Regions from separate parts of the Homo sapiens genome. Here regions 2 and 3 are each linked to region 1. Evidence: promoter capture Hi-C in 16 types of primary human blood cells and fetal thymus (Javierre and others, 2016). All regions are on one chromosome and are shown on one strand. Each heading gives the region's core, a stretch centred on a gene start or on the middle of the fragment in contact. The rest is flanking DNA. Distances are from core to core; before and after follow the strand shown. Region 1 holds the start of HEATR5A (HEAT repeat containing 5A). Region 2 overlaps AKAP6 (A-kinase anchoring protein 6). Region 3 overlaps AKAP6 (A-kinase anchoring protein 6).

What was found. Contacts are between HindIII fragments. The CHiCAGO score rates a contact against its expected background, and 5 or more counts as called.
Region 2: a contact is called between a fragment that was not itself captured here and the fragment with the promoter of HEATR5A in region 1, in 1 of 17 cell types (M1 macrophages). The highest score is 6.3, in M1 macrophages.
Region 3: a fragment that was not itself captured here is called in contact with the fragment with the promoter of HEATR5A in region 1 in 1 of 17 cell types (M1 macrophages); the score reaches 8.3 in M1 macrophages.

The regions. Positions count from the first base shown.
Region 1 is chr14:31,419,113-31,421,812 of GRCh38, reverse strand. HEATR5A (HEAT repeat containing 5A) reads left to right here and starts at 1,263. Exons shown (of 36, transcript NM_015473.4): 1 at 1,263-1,341. It overlaps HEATR5A-DT (HEATR5A divergent transcript), which reads right to left and starts at 1,055. Exons shown (of 4, transcript NR_110045.1): 1 at 836-1,055. RefSeq lists enhancers at 943-1,092, 1,523-1,572 and a silencer at 1,683-1,802. The HindIII fragment of the contact is 6,619 bases long and covers 1-1,950 here.
Region 2 is chr14:32,474,038-32,476,737 of GRCh38, reverse strand. The region is part of intron 2 of AKAP6 (A-kinase anchoring protein 6); the gene reads right to left. Among named protein-coding and RNA genes, the nearest start is that of AKAP6, 150 kb to the right of the region's middle. The HindIII fragment of the contact is 265 bases long and covers 1,216-1,480 here.
Region 3 is chr14:32,500,376-32,503,075 of GRCh38, reverse strand. All of the region lies in intron 2 of AKAP6 (A-kinase anchoring protein 6), which reads right to left. Among named protein-coding and RNA genes, the nearest start is that of AKAP6, 170 kb to the right of the region's middle. The HindIII fragment of the contact is 2,256 bases long and covers 182-2,437 here.

The DNA of each region.
Region 1 (2,700 bases), core at 14-2,513:
GAAAAGAGAGAAAGAAACGGATTATAAGTCATTTAACAAAATAGAAACCTCTGGATCCATACTAATTAATATAAATACATTAACTGAAGATTTGATGAGAAACAAGATATTTACAAATATCTTGAAAGGAGAGTTTCAGAGTCTCCCTCACAAAATACTTATTAATTTACAAAGGGGGGAAAAAAGTAACCACACTGGACAAGCCTAACAGACATCACCTTATTAAAGTAAACATCTGTAATGAGAGAAGTTAAAATCGTGCCACCTGATAGGGTGCCATGAGAAGAAAGCAGCAACACTTCTAGAGTCCTGTCATACCTAGCTAAATGTAATCATGAGTAAATATCAGACAGACCCAAAATGAAGGCCATTCTACAAAAATAACTGGCCAGGAATCTTTAACAGCGTCAAGAATATGAAAGGCAAGGCAAGACTGAGAGTTCCAGTTTGAAGAGTAGGAAAGATACATGATAAGTAAATACAATGCCTGATTCTGAACGGAATCTTTTACCATAAACAATATTATTGGGACAATTGGTAAAACGCCGAGTTATGTAAATGTTTTGATTTTGATGGTTATATTGTGATTATGTAGAAGGTGCTTAGGGACAATGTGGCATGGTGTCAGCAATTTAAATCTCAATTCAGGGAAAAAAAGTTCTTTGTACTATACTTGCAACCTTTTTGTAAGCTGGAGATAGATTCAAAATGAAACTTGAAAAATGACATTTAAAACGCTGAGTGTAGTGGGAAAACGCACATGACTCAAGGTAAGAGGCTATTAGTCTCAGTTCTGCCATTGACTTAGTATGTGACCTTGAGCAAGTCACTTTACCTCAGTCCTCACAGTCAAGGCTCTCTAGGGTCCCTTCCACGTCTAACATCTACCCCCACAGCACTGGCCCCGCCTGAATTTCTCCAGGCCCTTTAGGTGTCCCAGAGCTGCACCCAAAGACTCTGGCTTACGATAAAAACAGACAAAAATAGTTGTGGCCGGAATCTCCGGACTGAAAAACCGCTGTCCTAATCCTAACTTGGGCCGCAGTCTCCATCGCTCTTTCGACGGTGAAGCAGTCACGCCTGCCAGAGTGGGCGCTCGATGGCTCGGCGGCCAGCTGGCGGGGCCTTGGACCAGCGGCCCGGCGCAGGGCGCGCTCCCAATCGCTAGCTCCCGCGGTGCTCGCCGCTGAGAGCTTTCCGGCCACGCCCCACGCGCGCCCCGCCCACCTCAATGCCTCGCTGTCGCCGCCGCCGGCAATTCCAGACTCTGCTAGGGTTAGCAGAGCAGCCGGTAACGTTGCTGGACCGGGACGCACGCTCAGCTGAGGAGGACCCCCAAAGGCAGGCAGTCGGGGATCCAGGGAGCGGGGACACCTCCGGGCGCGAGGGGGCTGTGTCTGGGCTGCCTGTTGGCTGGGAAGGAGAACGCACCAGGGCCGCTGTATGAGTTGAGCGCTCGGGGATCCCGAGGGTGGTCGCGGCAGCAATGTGATCGCGAAAGAAGCCGGTGGGAGAACCGGTCGAGGGGCTAGGTGTCTTGACCCTAAGGGCTGGAGTCCGCCGAGAAGGGGCTGACTGGGGCACAGGGTCGGCTGATAAACAGCGTGGTCCGTTCTTCCTCCTGGACTACGGGAAAGTCTGGCTTCACCTGTGCACAACAGGTAGGCGTGGACTCTGCCCGCCAGCGGGAGCCGGGGTTGCCGGGCGTGTGGGGAAGGTCAGCAAGTCGGAGCCCGCCTCGCCAACTCGCCGCTCCCGGGACCCGCCCTGCGGCGTCCGCTGCGCCAGTGGTCAGCCAGGAGCCGGGCCCCGGCCCGGCCTTCGGGCGAGCTTCCTCAGAGGCCCGTTCGTTTTCTGCAGGAACCCTCAAAGAGAGTTCCCAGAAGGGAGCAGTGGAGAGTGTGGATATTTGCTTTCTAACTGTTGCAGTTCTCTCCAGGAAAGAAAGCTTTTCCTTTGGTGGCATTTGCTTAGTGTGAGGAAACATTTTCTTTCACCCTACTCTCGGCCAACGCGGCGTTATTTCAAGTGATTATAAAGTCTTTAGAAACTTTATAAAGCGTTTTATAGTGTTTATTTATCACAGTAATGGATACCTCTGGCAAGTTGGGATAATTTTCTTGACTGTCAAGTCAGATAATAATAAAATGGCTTGAGCTCCTACATTAAAGGTCATAGTTATCCATTGTTTTTATGTGCATTCATTTATTGAACAAATATGCAGCACTTTTTTGGGGCTAGGCGCCCTTAAGGAATTTACAGCCTGAAAGATATTAGAAGTTTAAGGAGGAAAAAAAGGGGCCCACAAGTACACTTAAGAACTTCCAGAGAAAATACTCCCAGTGAAATTACTTAAGCTGTAGGGAAAGCAGAAGTGTGGTTAGAATTGAGCATTAGTTGGATGGGGAGAGGAGAATTTTGTTTAATTTTCCAAACATTTTAGAAAGTATGTCTTTGAGAAAGTAATTTTAGATAAAGTATCGAAGCCGAGATTTGTGTTACATTTTAATGCCATTGACTTTTTTTTTTTCTTCACTGATAAGCAGGCAGGATTTATAATATAAGAATAGTGACAGTTGGAGAATACTGTAGTATGGATTTGTTGTGCCTTGGAATGCAGTTGTTTTACCTAGATGACTATAGAATAGGAGAATAAGAAAAGACTCCTCACCTGAAAGTCAGGAGACCTGAATTCTAGCT
Region 2 (2,700 bases), core at 99-2,598, 1.1 Mb before region 1:
CAGTATTTGGCTTTGCTACACCAGGCAAGGGGATCCCAGTTTAGTTTGGTAACACTTACGGAAAATCCCTCCCTATTATTTTAGCACTGTGATTCAGAAAGATCTTCAACTTGCGGCCCGGTGTCTGAAGGTTTTAATCTTTATCTGACACAAGTCAAATATGACTAGATAAAATTCGATGGGAAACAGGGCTAAAATCCAGTAGGAGACTTGCATTCTATACAAAAATCTTATTGCAATATATCTTTGAGGATAATGCACACAAGGAAAGTTCAACTTAAACCTCTTCCAGATCCTACTTCGCTGTTTACTTATGTCCAAGTAGGGTCTGAGATGACTTTGGGGGCTTCCAAATAAGGAGGCACTATGCATTTCTCCCCAAGCCTCTCAACTCAGTAAGGAAGTGCTTCTATATAGATCCATCCTCCTTGCCTAGCCTTCTATGGATAAAGATTTTTAAAACTAATCATTATAAAAACTTTAAGAGCATGAGGTCAGAATTTTTGTCACTTGTGTTTACTGCTATGCCAAGAATAGTTTGACATATGGTAGGCATTAAATATTTGTTGAATTGATAAATATAAGGTCCTAGAAAATATATCACAAAAATATGTTTAAGAACAATATATTGTTTATTTCTGCATATAAACATGAAAATTTAAAGGTACCAAATAGATAATAATTATAATATTATACAAGTACTGCTAGTTAAAAATGTACTTAAAACATTTTTATGAGTAGTTAAAAGAGCTGAAGGCCAGGCGCAGTGGCTCACGCCTGTAATCCCAGCACTTTGGGAGGCCGAGGCGGGCGGATCATGAGGTCAGGAGATCGAGACCATCCTGGCTAACATGGTGAAACCCCTTCTCTACTAAAAAAAAAATACAAAAAAATTAGCCGGGCGTGGTGGCGGGCGCCTGTAGTCCCAGCTACTTGGGAGGCTGTGGCAGGAGAATGGCATGAACCCAGGAGACGGAGCTTGCAGTGAGCAGAGATAAGCCACTGCACTCCAGCCTGGGTGACACAGCGAGACTCCGTCTCAAAAAAAAAAAAAAAAAAGAGCTGAAAATGATTTCTGTCTGCAGACTCTGCTCATCAGATTAAGATGTAAGGATGCAGGTGAGCAGGTTGGTTGCATGCCAGTGCTGCAAAGAGAAGCTGGTTTTGCTCGATCTTCCACATTGACAGAATTCATAGCATGCCTTTTTGGAAGCTTTGCTCTGCATAGAATTGTCAATATGCACCTGCCATCAGTCCTTCAAGACATCTTGCCCAAAATATCACCTTTAAAATAAGAACCCACAACAAAAACTAACATTCACTAAAAAGGATTAATGGAGGGGATGCCTGAATCAGCTGTAGCCAATGTGAAGGTAGAATGGTGTTGTAAATAAGAGAGCAGAAGGCTTTAGAGATGCCCTGAACATCAGCCTTAGCATTATTATTATAATAACAACTGTGGGTCTTTGGAAGAGAAGCTTAACCTCTGTGCCTCAGTTTCCTGTGTTGTGTGTCAGGACTAGGACCCACATCACAGGATAAGGACAAAACATGATAGTGCATGCAAAGTATCTGACATATAGTAAGCGCTGAACAAAGGTTCACTGTGATTATTATACATCCATAAACCATTGAAAGTAAATTATAGACGAGTACTACACTGAGATGTACATTCCTTTGTATAAGGAATGTTCATCAGGCTGTAGCTCTACGTATGTATTTCCAGAGAGAACATTTAAAGAAATATACTTCCTGTGTCTCAAAAGTACAAAACTGAGAACAAATGTGCTACAGCTGTGGAAGTGAACATATGTACACCTCTCCCAAATGAATGGTAGGTTAGAATTTTCATCCGTTTTGCCAAGAAATTCATATAATTCCTATTCTCCAAAGCAAATAGCAAATAAACAAATTTATAGAAATTTAACAGAGAAATCTGGAATCAGAACAAATTTTGGAAAATGAGTGAAGTGCAAATATCAAACAATTTCTAAAATAAATGCAGGACCAAATGAACTGGAAACATATTCCATGAAGGAAACTTAAATCCTCATCCCCCTTGGGGAAAAGTGCTAGTTTCCTGCAAGATTCAATCCCTATTTCTTTAATGTGTGTGAACTATAAGCCAGCCCCACCTGGAATTTAGTTTGATTACAAATAAGTTTGTCAGATTGTTTACCTTGAAATCTTTCTTCTCTCCTAAAGAATTCTAAGAATGGTACTCGCAGTCACTCAGCTTTTTCATCAGAGAACTTGCTTGTATACAGATGTTGAACCATGTGAGACTACCATTCAATTGCCTTTGACCCACAAAAACAGCAATTTCATATGGTTCACTTATTCTACGTTGGATGGAAGTGGTCTAGGAAGATTTGAGGGGTTAAGGAAGTGGCTCCATAAAGAGAAGATATTTATTCCTTGTTAATGAATTTCACCTCCTCCAAGTTGTTGTGTCACAAAACGAAACACGTGTTGAGGAAGTAGAATCGCTTCATGTGGAAAGAATTAAATTCTCTTAGCATTGATGAAAAAAGACAGTGGGCTGGGCACCGTGGCTCACACCTGTAATCCCAGCACTTTGGGAGGCCGAGGCGGGTGGATCACCTGAGATCAGGAGTTTGAGACCAGCCTGGCCAACATAGTGAAACCCCGTTTCTACCAAAAATACAAAAATTAGCCAGGCACGGTGGTGCATGCCTG
Region 3 (2,700 bases), core at 60-2,559, 1.1 Mb before region 1:
TAGGCACTATTAAGTATTCCTGGTTGGACGGTAAATTAGTGCAACCACTGTGGAAAGCAGTTTGGCCATTTCTATTAAATTCCAAATGCATATACTATATATATTGACTAGCAATTCTACTTCTGAGAATTTATGTATGCAATATGTTTACATTTTTTGTGAAATGACTTATGTTCAAGCTTATTTATTGCAATACAGTTTGTAATATCCAAAGATTGGAAACAGACTAAATGTTCATCAGTATGGTACATTTATTCAGTAGAGCACTACACAACTATAAGAATGAGGATAATAAGAAGACTTTATATTCTGACGCAGAAAGATCTTCATGGTGTATAAAGTTTAAAAAGCAAGGTGCAGAACAGTATGTATAGGATAAAACAGGAGGAAAACTAAGAATATATATTCACATTTGCTTATAAATGCATATACAAATTCTAGAAGAATATGCAAGAAGAGAAGAATGAGTACCTACAAAGTTGGGTTACAAAAGGGAGAAACTGTTAGAAAGGCCAGCTCTCTGCATTGGAGTATAAAAGGTGGCGTTTTCACTGTATATCTTTTCATATTTTTAAATTTTTGGCTCTGTAAATGTATTTCATATTCACAAATATAAGACAGACAGCAACAAAAACTCTAAACCAGTTTGCCGTGGGTAATTTAAAGCTAAAGGGCAGTGGTCCAATTAAACTGTCTTCAATAAAAGCTGCTCTTGATGGACACTTGTGTTATAATCAGTAATCCATGGAGAGCAGTCACTCTTTACCACCAGTCTCCTTTGAGGAATATTTATCTCATTTCTCCATCTAAAATATCTCCTTTCATTTAAGAAATAAAACAGCTTATCCAAGCACTTCAGTTCAATAATTTCACCATTAAGAGCACTTCTGTTACTATTCTTCTAAGCACTTTTAAAAAGCTAAAAACTTCAATTGAACAGACTGTTCATTATAACATAAAATACAATTTATACATTGATTGAAATGGCTTGATGAGGACCTTAACAATCTTTTGCTTTGAATGAGGAGCTTCAGTATGAGGAAGGAAAAGGCCCACTCAAAATGATAATGCAATGCTGAAAATAGTACTATTAGTTAAACGATCCAGTAATAAGGCATATTTGCTTCATTATACTGGGCGCTTATCATTTTCTAAAACAGAAGTAATAGGATACTGTCATTAAGTCAGAGTACAGCCTAGGAGAGCCAATGTGATAAAATATTGAAGACATAGGTTTACTGCAAGAGCTGCATCTACATGCACAGAGTTAAAGGGGAGGTTGAAGGACAAATAAAGGAAAGAAAGAAGGGCAGTCTGATGGAAGAAATATCACTCCAGAGAGTGAAGACCTCGCATCTACTTACATTTTCTCATTAACAAGAGTGTCAGTTAATCTGCCTGGGCATCAATTTCCTGATCTGTAAAATATGGTAATAATAATACCTTATGCTGTGGTAAAGACTCTACTCTGTACTCGCCAAACCTATTTTTTTTTCCTCCTGGGCACACAGCTAAATGACATTTTCCAGGTGCCCTGGGCAGTTAGTTAGATCAGGTCATATGGACTAAATACTGGCCAATGGAACGTGGGTAGAAGTGATATACTTTGGTGCCAGGTTGAATCCTTAAAACTTCCTTTGAGATATTTTATGTACTCTCTTTTCCTTGTCTGCTGACTGGATTCTGAAGATCGAGGATTCTGAGGTCCTAGAAAAATGAACCTCTAGATCTGTACTGTCCAATGTGGTAGCACTTGAAATGTTTTTGCTAGTCCAAATTGAGATGTATTCTAAGTATAAGATACACACTGGATTTCAAAAACTTTGTGTGCAAAAAAGAATTTGAAATTGTTTATTAATAATTTTATATTAATTACATGTTAAAACAATATTTTGGACAAATTGGGTTAAATAAGAGATATTAAAATTTATTGTGTTTTTACTTTCTTGATTTAGAAAATTTAAAAATCGCAAGTATGATTCATTTGTGGCTTCTACTGTATTTTTATTGGACAGGGTTGCTTAGGAGGGAAGGAACCTCAGTCCTTGAATAACTGATAGAGCAGAGCTTTCCAAATACTTTGGTGTGCCACAGGCTAGAATGCACTTGCAATGGGAAACTTCAGGGCTTGACCTTTGTTCTTTAAGAGTCCATTTGAAGGTTCCCTGTATACATACCTGCCCCAGTTAAGGTAAAGGAAAAAGGAACTTGTTTATACCAAGTCAGGATAAAGGGAATGGGGGAAGGTATCTTATGATATGGTGGTGACTATGACCATCATACCTGTAGACACTAGAAACATCTGGCATAACTAGCAAAGAAAAAGAGAAAAGGTTGGGAGACACAAAGATCAGTCAAGAATACACAGCCCTTTTGATACAGACTTTTCCCCATATATGGTAATTAAGACTAAAGTACAGAACTTCTCAGGGAAGCTTCTGTACTCAAATCTTCACCATTCTAAGTAGTATTAGCACCTACACTGGCAACACCATACCAATTCTGGGTAGATATGCTGCATGAACACAACTTCAACCATTGGCACCTATGCATCCCATATAGTAAGTGTGCCCTCCTTCCAACCAGGGACTCTGGGGAAGTATGCTCAGCGTCACAGAGTGACAGAAGTATAGGAAGTGATCATTGGTTCACTATTGTATTATCCCTCTGTCCTTGTAATAAGAATCACATTCAGACATA